Regions from separate parts of the Homo sapiens genome. Here region 2 is linked to region 1. The links are contacts of gene promoters, found by promoter capture Hi-C in blood cells and fetal thymus (Javierre and others, 2016). All regions are on one chromosome and are shown on one strand. The core of a region is centred on a gene start or on the middle of the fragment in contact, and the rest is flanking DNA. Distances in the headings are between cores, read along the strand shown. Region 1 holds the start of THAP1 (THAP domain containing 1). Region 2 holds the start of UBE2V2 (ubiquitin conjugating enzyme E2 V2).

Region 1 (6,660 bases), core at 1,412-3,911:
TCCTAGAAAATCTCAGCTGGGGCTGGGCATGGCCTGTAATCAGGCCTGTAATCCCAGCACTTTGGGAGGCTGAGGAGGGCGGATCAGGAGGTCGAAGTATGGAGACCATCCTGGCCAACATGGTGAAACCCTGTCTCTACTAAAAATACAAAAATTAGCTGGGCGTGGTGGTGCACACCTGTAGTCCCAGCTACTTGGGAGGCTGAGGCAGGAGAATCACTTGAACTCGGGAGGCAGAGGTTGCACTGAGCTGAGATCGTGCCACTGCACTCTAGCCTGGTGACAGAGCAAGACTCCATCTCAAAAAAAAAAAAAAAAAAAAAAGAAAGAAAATCTCAACTGGAACGGCCTCTATAAGTATAAACTAGGGTAGCATTTGCTGGTAAAATTCAGTACCTATGGCCTCCTGGCTCTGTAAGTATAAACTATGGTAGCATTTGCTGGTAAAATTCAGTACCTAGGGCCTCCTGGCTCAAGGACAACAAATTTACAGCTGTTTGTGAGATTCTCTTAAGATCTTTCCCATCTACTCTCCCTAAACCTGCTATTTTAGATAAGGGATAAGATGCAGGTTAGCCCTTCTTTTGATTCAATCCATATCTGCTTAACATCTAGCAGAAACAGTTGTATCTTTTTTTTTTTTTTTTTTTTTTTTTGAGATGGAGTCTCACTCTGTTACCCAAGCTGGAGTGCAGGGCAAGATCTCAGCTCACTGCAACCTCCATATCCCAGGTTCAAGTGATTCCCCTACCTCAGCCTCCCAAGTAGCTAAGATTACAGGCGTACGCCTGTATTTTGTATTTTTAGTAGAGACGGGATTTTGCCATGTTGGCCAGGCTGGTCTCGAACTCCTGACGTCAGGTGATCCGCCCACCTTGGCCTCCCCAAGTGCTGGGAATTACAGGCATGAGCCATCGTGCCTCGACAAAAACAGTTATTTCCGACGTGTGAATACCCTCTTTAAACTAGTTTCCAGTGCCAATGAAACATTTTCCATAATTTTAGATTCCTTCTGCCAAGCCATCAGAAATGTGGGTGGGGAGCTGGGCATGTAATCCTGTTACCATCACCTGACCTTTCCCTACATTTAGAAAGAACATGTTTACAGAAATTCCAATTAAATCAAGAGATAATATTAGGATATCCTGAACTGAATCCTCTAAGTGTTCTATCCCCTTCTCCAAGGGGTAACATTATTACTCTGGAGACCTCTCTATGTTCTACACACTCTTATTTCTATAGGGTCCATCTCACATGATATCAAACATATTTAAAAAATGCATGGACACTCCCCTAGTAAACACAGATGGCCCCACAGCAAAAAAATAAATTAACTGAAAAGATATTTAACATTTTGCTTTTGTAATTATTTACCTAATTATAAAAGATAATTAGCTAATTACCTATGGCTAATCTGTATAGTTTACCCCTGGATCTGATTTCTTACCTATCATCTGCGTATAGCTGTCAGGAATTCTTGCAAAGAAAACTTAACATAAATGTAATTAAAATTTGTAAACAAATTCAGCTGAATGAAAATGTTATGTCACATTTTACAAGCGTTTATCATAAGTAATTACAACTCTGCACTTTTTTCCTATTTTCAAGAGAATATTTTTGATCCTATCACTTAACTGTGCTACCTACTGGATAAGACAGCTCTGAAAGCTGTGGGGCAGTTTCTTTCGAAAGAGCTTTCTCTATGCACAGGTAATGCCATAATAAATAAAGATCCGTGTGAGTCATTTTATTATGATCCATGTTGTAACTGTCCATATTATCATTATTGTGTGCTGAAAAGATAACGATTTATCTCGGCAGTACCTGAAGCTTTCTCCAAAATACAGGGTCCTTAAAGCTTAGTTCCTAGAGATTGGGGGCAAAAATTCTCCCTGATTTCCCAGCCAAAAAACCCTTAATTGCTACGATGCTGGCCTCCCATCCACGGCAAGGGCGAAAAGTAGTGATTTCTTCGTTTAAAGGCCTTTGTTTCTATTTTAAATTTACCCCTAAGACCATATTAAAACACCTGGCTGCTCTGTGACCCTGGTGGTGGCAAAACCCGCGCCACCCTAGGCATCGCCCGTGGGCTCCGAACGCGTCAACCCAGGCCGTGAGCGAAGCCTGCAACCAGGGCCTGTTCCAGGAGCGCGAGAAACGGCTGCCGCGGCGACGCGCGCCGAGAACGCGCGATCGGGCGGCGGTTCCCAGCGGGACGCGGTGGGAAACGCCCGACACGGCCGGCCCCAGACCCCACCCGCCCCTCGCGCGGACACGCGCCTGGCTCCGCCCCCGGCCCCGCCGGCCGCGCGCCCCCACCCCGGCTGAGACCGGCCCCGCGAGGCGCGCAGGGTCCTCACTTGTGGAAAGAAACGGGCTTGTCCTTGTCGTAGCGGTTCTTGCAGCCGTAGGCGGAGCAGGACTGCACCATCCTTCCGGTCCTCAGGCACTTCACTTCTGCCGCCGCAGAAGGCAGGGGAAGCTGTTCTCAGTGTCGCTGCGCTCGGTTGGATTCCCTCGCTTCTTTTGTAGCTTTGGCCAACAGTTACAGTGATGGTGGCCTCCCTCGGGGGTGACTAGTGTGCCCGTTTTGTTGTTTGCATTAGCAGAAGGACCACAGCCATCGCCCGTCTCCCATCTCCAAGATGGCGGAGGCAGCTTCAACCTCACCTCTCGCGAGGGGTGCGTCCCACTGTCTCTGATTAGCCCCGAGGTCAGAGGTAACGTTTCCTGGGAAGCTAACTATTGGCTGAGGCCAGGTGTTTCCGGCGGTGGCTTCAGAGTTGCCGAAGTGGGCGGAGCCCTGAGCTTCCGGCAGGCAGGAAGGAACTGCTTGTGGGGGGAGGAGGCGCGGCGGGAGGCCGGATTCCTGGGGCATCCTCCAGCCCCGGGCTGTTCCCGTGGGTTAATTGATGCGGACCTTTTCTGGGGCAGCTTACAGTAGGGAACAACTAGGGCCTCTTGGAGAACAGGTGTAAAGCCGAGGTCGTTGGCTGATTGCGCCCATTTCTTTAAAAGGGCGGACACAGATGGTGTATGATTAATAAAATTGTGGAACCTTTTCCCAGAGTGCTAATCTTTATCCCATTACCTGTGTCTTCAGGTATCACAAGTTTCTGTGAGAGCCAACGTGACAGATTTTTAGCAATGAAAAAAGACACACTCGCCAAATCATCTCAATTGCCAACGCAGAAGCGTTTTATATATATGTATGTATATGTATGTATATATGTGTGTATGTATATATGTGTGTGTGTATGTATATATATATATATATATGTAATTTTTTAAATAAATAGAGGCGTTGTCTCCCCACGTTGCCCAGGTCAGTCTGGAACTCGAGCTCAAGGGATCCTCCCATCTCGACCTCCCCATGGGTTGGGATTACAGGAGTTGAGCCACCAGGCTGTCCCTCCCCAGAAGCTTTTCTGAAGGCTCTCCATTGCTGTGATTTCCATGTGCTGTGTTGCAAATAGCGAACTGCTGCAGCAATTTTCACACCTGAGAGAGAATATGTTAGAGGGGTTCGAACTAGAGCGACTCTGTGTTGAGTGAGGGCTAGGAAAATGAGGCTGGGACTTGCTGGGCTGCATTCCCGGGAAGTTAGGTATTCCTAGCCTCTAGATGTGTATACCATTAAGGCAACAGATTGATAATGTTTACTACACAGACCCAGACTACCAAGTGTCCAGATATCCCGATATTTTGAGAACAGAAGCATTCCTAATTTTGCTTTAAAGATAATAATATTGGGCTGGGCACAGTGCCTCACGCCTGTAATCCCAGCACTTTGGAAGGCCGAGGCGGGCGGATCACTTGAGGTCAGGAGTTCAAGACTAGCCTGGTCAACATGGTGAAAACGTCTCTACTAAAAATACAAAAATTAACCGGGTGTGGTGGCACATGCCCTCGAATTTCAGCTACTCTGGAGGCTGAGGCAGGATAATCGCTTGAATCCGGGAGGCGGGGGTTGCAGTGAGCCGTGCTTGCACCACTGCACTCCAGCCTGGGCGACAGAGTAAGACTCTGTCTCATAAATAAAGATAATATCGATTCTTACATAATATAGTAATTAATCCTTTATCACAAACCCTTGTAGCAAAGCACATCTCCCCATGATCTTTTTTTATCCTATATATAAACTAAGTGTTGTACTTAGGGTGGACGCGTTCCTCCTCTTACTTTCGGGAATGCCCTACTCTGTCTGTGGAGTAGCTGTACTTTCACCACTTTACGTTCTTAATAAACTTGCTTTTGCTTTGTACTGTGGACTTGCCCTGAATTCTGTCTTGCGTGAGATCCAAGAACCCTGTCTTGGGGTCTGGATTGGGACCCCTTTCCTGTAACAGTTTTACTTCATTCCCTGCTCCTTTTCTTTATATAGATCTGAGCCAGGCAGACCTGGAGAGCGGACTGTTGAGTAATCCCTTGGCCCTTATTCTCTACCTTTCCTGCCCTTTTAAATGTTGCTGTTTCCCCAGGGTTCCATCTTCTGCCCTCCTCTAACTCCTAAACACCCTGCTCCTTAAACTGAACCAAATACCATAATTCTCTCATCTTTTATTTCCTTTGTATATCCGTTCTGCCTTTGGGATTATCATCTGTGAATTATCATCTGTGAATTATCTGTTCAACAGTTGTCTAAACCAGAAACCTTGGAGTCATCTTGGATTTTTTTTGTCACCCATAAAACCCGTTGATGACCAGGTTAATTTTGTAGACTAAATAAATAAATGCCCCTTAAATCCATCCCTCTTCATGTCTCCTCACTGTTGTTGTTGTTTTTTTTTTTGTTTTTTTTTTTGAGAGGGAGTCTCACTCTGTCGCTCAGTCTGGAGTGCAGTGGCACAATCTCAGTTCACTGCAACCTCCGCCTCCTGGGTTCAAGCGATTATCCCGCCTCAGCCTCCTAAGTAGCTGGGATTACAGGCACCCGCCACCATGCCTGGCTAATTTTTGTATTTTTGTAGAGATGGGGTTTCACCATGTTGGCCAGGCTGGACTCGAACTCCTGACCTCAGGTGATACGCCTGCCTCGGCCTCCCAAAGTGTTGGGATTACAGGCGTGAGCCACTGCGCCCAACCCTCACTGTTCTTTAATTATTTTTATTATTATATTTAACAGAGATGAGGTCTCACTGTGTTGCCCAGGCTGGTCTCAAACTCCTGGGTTTAAGCTATCTGTCAGCCAGGGCCTCCCAAAGTCCTGGGACTACAGGCGTGAGCCACGGCACCTGGCCTCCTCACTGTTCTTGACCAAGCTCTCATGGTCTTAACCTTGCAGCAACCCCTTAACTATCCTAGTCTCCAGTTTTACCTCTCTCCATTCTATCTTCTATAGAAGGGTGGTGCATGCCTGCCACGCCCTTGCTCATATCCTTCCAAGGCTACCTGCTGTACTGAATAAAATCCAAACTTCTTATGGTGAATTATAAAGCTCTTTAAGACCAAGTACTTCTACTCTTCCACCATCATCTCCCTCCACTTGTCTTTACCTTTGTTCCGGCTTTATGTCTTAGAGGGTAGGCTCTTTTGTGGTTTCTTTAAATAGGCTGTTTTCCTTGGCTTGAAATGCCCATCCCTGACCTGTCCACCCTTAAGATGTGGCTTAATGGCCTGGTGCAGTGGCTCACGCCTGTAATCCCAGCACTTTGGGAGGCTGAGGCGGGTGGATCACATGAGCCCAGGTGTTCAAGGCCAGCCTGGGCAACATAGTGAGACCCTGTCTCTACAAAAAAAATACAAAAATTAGCCAGGCATGTTGGCACACACCTGTAGTCCCAGATACTTGGGAGGCTGAGTTGAGAGGATTCCTTGAACCCAGAAGGTTGAGGCTGCAGTGAGCTGTGGTCATGCCTTTGTACTCCAGCCTGAGCAAACAGAATGAGACCCTGTCTCAAACAAGCAAACCAACAGTTACCATGAGCTGGGTGTCAGGGCTCAGGAGGCTGAGGCAGGGACTCAAGGCAGCCTGGACAGCAGAGTGAGACCCTGTTTCTAAAAAGTTGTTTTTAATTGGTCAGGTATGGTGGTGCATGCCTGTAGTTCCAGCTACTTGGGAGGCTGAGGCAAGGAGGATCCCTTGAGTCCAGGAGTCTGAGGCTGCTGGAGTGTGAGCTATGATCATGACAGTGAGATCCCATCTCTAAATTTTATACACATACACATACACACACAGATATGTATTGCTAAAAAAAAAAGCTAATGATCACCTGAGCCTTCAGCAAATGGTGATCTTTTTGTTGATGGAGAGTCTTGCCTTGATGTTGATGGCTGCTGACTGATCATGGTTGCTGAAGGTTGAGGTGGCTGTGGCAAGTTCTTAAAATGAGACAACAATGAAGTTTGCTGCATCGATTGACTCTTCCTTTCATTAAATATTTCTCTGTAGCAAGTAATGCTGTTTAATAGCATTTTGGTCACAGTAGAACTTCTTTAAGAATTGGAGTTAATCCTCTCAAACCCTGCCACTGCTTTATCAACTAGGTTTATTTAATATTCAAAATATTCTAAATCCGTTGTTGTCATTTCAACAATGTTCACAGCATCTTTGCCAGAAGTAGATTCCATCTTCATAAACTACTTTATTTGCTCATCTATAAGAAGCAACTCCTCATCTGTTCAAGTTTTATCATGAAATTGCAGCAACTCAGTCACATC
Region 2 (6,937 bases), core at 122-2,621, 5.2 Mb after region 1:
TTTTTTTTTTAGTAGAGACAGGGTTTCACTGTGTTAGCCAAGATGGTCTTGATCTTCTGACCTCGTGATCCGCCCGCCTCCGCCTCCCAAAGTGCTGGGATCCATGCCCGGCCAAAAGCATTCCCTTTGAAAGCCGGCACAAGACAAAGATGCCCTCTCTCACCACTCCTATTCAACATAGTATTGGAAGTTCTGGCCAGGGCAATCAGGCAAGAGAAAGAAATAAAGGGTATTCAATTAGGAAAAGAGGAAGTCAAATTGTCTCTGTTTGCAGATGACATGATTGTATATTTAGAAAACCCCATAGTCTCAGCCCCAAATCTTCTTAAGCTGACAAGCAACTTCAGCAAAGTCTCAGGATACAAAATCAATGTGCAAAAATCACAAGCATTCCTATACACTAATAACAGACAAACAGAGAGCCAAATCATGAGTGAACTCCCATTCACAATTGCTACAAAGAGAATAAAAATACCTAGGAATACAACCTACAAGGGATGTGAAAAATCTTTTTTTTTTTTTTTTTTCAGTTTTATGTAGAGACTAGGTATCACTATGTTGTCCAAGCTGGTCTCAAAGTCTTGGGTTCAAGCCATCCTCCTGCCTCAGCCTCCCAAAGTGTTAGGATTACAGAAGTGAGCTTCGGCGCCCAGCCTGTATTACTTTCCTTTTTCTTTCTTTCTTTTTTTTTTTTGAAATGGAGTCTCCCTCTGTTGCCCAGGCTGGAGTGCAGCGATTTCTGCTCACTGCAGCCTCACCTCTTGGGCTCACGTGACCCTCCCACCTCAGCATCCCTAGCTGTTCAAATTTATTGTCCAACTCTTTTGAATCGTTTATCAACGCAAATCTGTCAATGCCCACTTATTTTTATTTATTTTTTTGAGGCGGAGTCTCGCTCTGTTGTCCAGGCTGGAGTGCAGTGGCGCAATCGCGGCTCATTGCCCCTCCGCCTCCCCGGTTCAAACGATTCTCGTGCCTCAGCCTCCCAAATAGCTGGGATTACAGGCGCGCGCCACCACGTCCGGCTAATTTTTGTATTTTTAGTAGAGACGGGGTTTCGCCATGTTGGCCAGGCTGGTTTCGAACTCCTGACCTCGGGTGATCCGATCGCCTCGGCCTCCCAAAGTGCTGGGATTACAGACGTGAGCCACCGCGCCCGGCCCTCATGAACTTATTCTTTAGCGTTTCATTTTGAGAGCGGGATTCACAAGGGAATTGCGGAAACAGCAGCGAGGCCCCGCGACCCCTCGGCCCACGTGCGCGCTGTCCCTCGGGTCGCCCCGCGCCCGCCGGGGGCGGAGTCCGCTGTGACGCGTGCAGGGCGGCGCGCTCCCGGAAGTGACGCGCGACGGTTCGTGCGTGCGTGCGGGCGGCTGCGTCGGGCTGCAGGAGAAGATGGCGGTCTCCACAGGTCGGTTCCCGGGCCGGGCTGCGTGATTTTCCGCTCCGACCCGGCTCTGCCCCTCCGTCTGCTGCTGGCGCCCGAGCGCTGACCGTGCGGGAGAAGCCCGAGTGCGCTGTCTCGAATGCCGCGCTCTCCGCAGAGCGTAGCCTGGGACCGGGTGGGACCGGCGCCGAGGCCCCGGCGGCCGTCGGGTTGGCGGGTCGTGCTCGCGCGTCGGCCGCGCGCCGGCGGGCTGGGGGCGGGGTGGCTCCCGCGCGGGCGCCCCCGTAGGTTCCGGCGGGCGCGGGTCCGAGTTGTAGGCTGAAGGCTCTACGGGAGGGAGGCGAGGAGGCCCAAGGTGGGCGGGTGTCAACCTCCGGCACCGAAGATGGGTCAGGCCAACCGGCACCGAAGATGGGTCAGGCCAAGAGGTGTCCTGGATCAGAGTAGGGGTCCCATTCCTTTGGACTCTCCTTGACATGGGTTGGGGAGTAGAGGACGATTGCTCCTTAAAATAAGAGCGAGAGGATCTTTCTTACCTGACTGAATACGTGTGATCTTTTTATTATTTATGAGGAAAACTGCAGTGCAAACAAAATAAAAGACCAGAGCAAGATGAAAGCTAATTGAAGAACAAGTGGTTTCTTAGATAAGCTGTTCAACTCCTCTTTCCTACTGAATACAATGTTTGGTTTCCTGTGAGCACACAAGTATTAACGTTGAGGTTTTAGACATTAGACCATTTCAGAAATGTTAAAAACGTTAAGCTTTAGTTTACATTTAAAAATGTTAACCCGTGTGATCTGCCTTTTTCTTTTCTTTTCTTTTTTTTTTTTTTTTTGAGTCAGAGGCTCACCCTGTTGCCCAGTTGGAATGCAGTGGTGTGATCTCGGCTCACTGCAACCTCCACCTCCCAGGTTCAAGTGATTCTCCTGCCTCAGCCTCCCAAGTAGCTGGGATTACAGGCGCGTGCCACCAGGCCCGGCTAATTTTTGTATTTTTAGTAGAGACGGGGTTTTGTCATGTTGGCCAGACTGGTCTCGAACTCCTGACCTCAGGTGATCCGCCCACTTCGGCCTCCCAGAGTGCTGGAATTACAGGTGTGAGCCACCGCGCTCGGCCTGATCTGCCTTTTCCTAGTCTTCGTTGAAACAAGAGTATAGAGCAGTGTGATTTAATAGTTTATGCCATCATTGCATAATAAAATGAATTTTCAAATCTATATGTACTGAAATGGAAGGCTTTGAATATATGTTGTAATTGTTGCTTTAGAGTAATACCTCAGGATACATTCTGCATACATTTTAATTAAGTGGTGTCTTTTACATCTTTATTACATATAGGTGTCATAGGTTTTAAGATCTTTAGCAGTTCTAGTGTTGGGGTAGTATACATACTTGGGTCAGCTAGCTAGTAAGGCAAGGATTGTTTTAAAAGTGGAATTTTAGTGTTATGACTTTACTGTGCTTGCTGAAATCTAATCTGTGCTCGTTAACGGGGCCATATCTTTATAACAGTTGTGCTTAGGACCTCTTATAGATTTTTGAAAATTTAGTAATAAAATAATGCATTTTAATTTAATACTTTTCATTTTCCTTTTGTGGGTTGCATTATTAAACACAATTTTTTCATAACACTATACATGAGTGTATGTTAATATTTTGAAAAGACCAAAGGTTAGATGATATTAATGGCAAATACTTTTTGTTAATCACTTTTAGTTGTTTTGGAAGTTGAATATAAATTATAAAGATTACTGATAAATTATTAGCATATTGTACATAGGGAGTCTGTATTTTTTTTTTTTTTTTGAGATGGAGTCTCGCTGCATTGCCCAGGCTGGAGTGCAGTGGCATGATCTTGGCTCACTGCACCCTCCTCACCTCAGGTGATCCACCCGCCTCAGCCTCCCAAAGTGCTGGATTACAGGGGTGAGCCACCGTTCCCATCTACTAGTTTTTTTTTTTTTTTTTTTTGAGACGCAGTCTTGCTCTGTCACCCAGGCTGGAGTGCAGTGGCGCGATCTCGGCTCACTGCAACCTCCGCCTCCCGGGCTCAAGCGATTCTCCTGCCTCAGTCTCCTGAGTAGCTGGGACAACAGGCGCGTGCCACCATGCCCAGCTAATTTTTTGTATATTTAGTAGAGACGGGGTTTCACCATATTGGCCAGGATGGTCTTGATCTCTTGACCTCGTGATCCGGCCTCCCAAATTGCTGGGATTACAGGTGTGAGCCACTGCGCCTGGGTTTGTTTGTTTTTTTTTTTTTTTGAGACTGAGTCTCTCGCTTCTTTGCCCAGGCTGGAGTGCAAGGGCATGATCTCGGCTCACTGCAACTTCCACCTCCCTGGTTCAAGCAATTCCTCTGCCTCAGCCTCTTGAGTAGCTGGGATTACAGGTGCATGCCACCACGCCCAGCAAATTTTTTTGTATATATATATTTTTTTTGTATTTTTTTTTTTTTTTTTAGTAGGGACAGGTTTTCATCATGTTGTCCAGACTGGTCTCAAACTCCTGACCCCAGGCAATCCGCCCACCTTGGCCTCCCAAAGTGCTGGGATTACAGGTGTGAGCCACAGTGCCCAGCCTATTAATTAGTTTTAATTTTACTATTAGCTATACTTTTGTTTGCTTTTTGGTAACATGGGAAGTAAATAGTACCTGTGTATTTGTGAAAGCAGCATGATACAGCTTAAAATTTAAAATTAGATGAGCTACATCGATGTAATGCACGTGTTTGTTTGAAACGGAGTCTCGCCTTGTTGCTCAGGCTGGAGTGCAATGGTGCGATCTCGGCTGACTGCAGCCTCTTCCTCCTGGGTTTAAGCAATTCTCCTGCCTCAGCATTCTGAGTAGCTGGGTTTACAGGCATGCACCACCACGCCCAGCTAATTTATTGTATATATATTTTTTCTAGTAGAGATGGGGTTTCACCATGTTGGCCAGGCTGGTCTCAAACTGCTAACCTCAGGTAATCCATCTGCTCCGGCCTCCCAAAGTTCTGGGATTACAGGCATAAACCACTGAGCTTGGTCTAATACACGTGTTTTTTATTTAAGCCAAAGTATCTCGATAACAGTTGTTTAAGAGGCCAAAAAGAAAAACCCTGACAAATATGTTTTGATCTTTAGTTCAGTGTGCATCATATACCTTAGCCCCTTTAACCCTTCCTTCTACTGGAAGAGAATTTTGGAAGGAAAAAACTTTTAATTAGACTGAGACTTTTTGAGACGGAGTCTTGCTGTGTTGCCCAGGTTGGAATGCAGTGGCATGCGATCATGGCTCACTGCAGCCTCGACCTGCTGGGGTCAGGTGATCCTCCTACCTCAGCCTCCCGAGTAGCTGCGAACACAGGCACGCATTGCCACACCTGGCTAATTTTTAAATTATTTGTAGAGACAGGGTCTCCGTATGTTATCCAGTGTAGTCTGAACTCCTGGACTCAAGTGACCCTCCTGCCCTGGCCTGAGGTTAGGATTACAGGTTTGAGCCACTGTGCCTGGCCAGACGGAGACTTCTAAGCAGAAACATTTTTGGCCATCCCATCTGGTCTTCTTATTTTGCAGATGAGAAAACTGAGGCTCAAACAAGTAAAAGGCTATACATAGGTGGTTACTAGTACAGGCAAGACTAGAATCCAGGTCTTTTACCCTTAGTCTGATGCGCTCTCCATTATGAAGAACTCTGAATTTGGAATATTTCTCAGAACATGAATCTTAATTACTCCCTTTCACACTTCCCTTCTTAGCACAATCCTTGTTTCAGACTCTTAGATCCTTCTTATGGATGAAAGGGGAACGTAGCCCTCACCAGCTAGGTTCTCCTTTTCCAAGAGACAGAGTTACCCATGCAATTCAAGAGTATTTCACAGGACAGAGGTTAAGAAGCTACTCTCGGGAATAGAAATTTGATACTGTTTAGTACTCATGATTCAAAATTTTATTAGATTCCAGCATTAATAATAACAATTAGTTTAGATAGAAAAGTATGTGCAGGCCGGGTGGGGTGGCTCACACCTGTAATCCCAGCACTTTGGGAGGCCGAGGTGGGCGGATTACCTGAGGTCGGGAGGTTGAGACCAGCTGGACCAACATGGAGAAACCATGTCTCTACTAAAAATACAAAATTATCCGGGCGTGGTGGCACATGCCTGTAATTCCAGCTACTCGGAAGGCTGAGGCAGGAGAATCTCTTGAACCCGGGAGGCAGAGGTTGTGGTGAGCCGAGAGCACGCCATTGCATTCCAGCCTGGGTAAGAAGAGTGAGACTCCATCTCAGAAAAAAAAAGAAAAAAAGCGTGTGCAATAGTTTTAAAAAAATACAATAGTTTTAGTTTTACAGAAAAGTTGTGAAGATAGTACAGAAAGTTTCCATGCACCTCACATTCAGTTTTCCCTGTCAATTTCCTTTTTTTTTCTTTCGGGATGGAGTCTTGCTCTGTCGCCCAGGCTAGAGAGCAGTGGCGTGATCTGGGCTCACTGCAACCTCTGCCTCCTGGGTTCAAGTGATTCTCCTGCCTCAGCCTCCCGAGTAGCTGGGATTACAGGTGTGTGCTGTCACACCCGGATAATTTTTTGTATTTTTAGTAGAGACAGGGTTTCACCATGTTGGCCAGGCTGGTTTCAAACTCCTGGCCTCATGATCCGCCCGCCTTGGCCTCCCAAAGTGCTGGGATCACTGGTGTGAGCCACTGCATCTGGCTTCGCTGTTAATTTCTTATATTGGTATGGTACACTTGTCACAATTAAGGAACCAATATTGACACATTTATTATTAACTAAAGTTCAGATTTCCTTAGTTTTTCTTTAATGTACTTTTGCTGTCCTAGGACTTCATCCAGGATACCACATTACATTGTAACGTGAAACTTTTTTTTTTTTTTTGAGATGAAGTCTCGCTCTGTGGCCCAGGCTGGAGTGCAGTGGCGTGATCTTGGCTCACTGCAAGCACTGCCTCCTGGGTTCATGCCATTCTGTGGCCTCAGCCTCCGAAGTAGCTGGGACTATAGGCGCCTGCCACCATGCCCGGTTAATTTTTTTTGTATTTTTAGTAGAAGTGGGGTTTCACCGTGTTAGCCGGGATGGTCTCGATCTCCTGACCTCGTGATCCATCCGCCTCGGCCTCCCAAAGTGCTGGGATTACAGGCGTGAGCCACCGCGCCCGGCCCACATGAAACGTTTTACATTTATCACTTAGGTAATATTAATGGTACAGTGAAGCTCTAGTCTCTGACTGTAGATGCCTGGAAAATGTCTTTGAGTTATGAGAAACTCAGAAAAAATTGATGAAAGAATATGTTTTCTGCTATGTAGGCAGAAAACAAAACCAAAATATAACCTACTAATTGCCTTCTTCAGAAGTGGGTAGCATTGTATATACTGGAAGAACTAGTTTAGCAGTGTTCTGAGTTCCCTGCTGCCCCTGACAGACTACTGTGCCACCATGGGCATGTCAGTTAATCACTAAACATTGCTTTTCCCATCCCATCTGTGAAAAGATTGGACAACATCATCTTGTTTTCCTCTTTAGATGAAGATACTTGGATATGGACAGA

Evidence for each region. Contacts are between HindIII fragments. The CHiCAGO score rates a contact against its expected background, and 5 or more counts as called.
Region 2: the fragment with the promoter of UBE2V2 here is called in contact with the fragment with the promoter of THAP1 in region 1 in 4 of 17 cell types (fetal thymus, total CD4 T cells, total CD8 T cells and 1 more); the score reaches 28.6 in fetal thymus.

Annotation. Positions count from the first base shown.
Region 1 is chr8:42,840,664-42,847,323 of GRCh38, forward strand. It overlaps THAP1 (THAP domain containing 1), which reads right to left and starts at 2,662. Exons shown (of 3, transcript NM_018105.3): 1 at 2,361-2,662. The coding sequence starts at 2,431. LOC124901940 (a long non-coding RNA gene) reads left to right here and starts at 2,271. Exons shown (of 2, transcript XR_007060901.1): 1 at 2,271-2,720; 2 at 3,104-4,749. RefSeq lists enhancers at 2,255-3,045, 2,381-2,740 and a silencer at 2,261-2,350. The HindIII fragment of the contact is 1,565 bases long and covers 1,857-3,421 here.
Region 2 is chr8:48,007,060-48,013,996 of GRCh38, forward strand. It overlaps UBE2V2 (ubiquitin conjugating enzyme E2 V2), which reads left to right and starts at 1,372. Exons shown (of 4, transcript NM_003350.3): 1 at 1,372-1,411. The coding sequence starts at 1,396. RefSeq lists silencers at 1,078-1,337, 1,568-1,767. The HindIII fragment of the contact is 2,629 bases long and covers 1-2,149 here.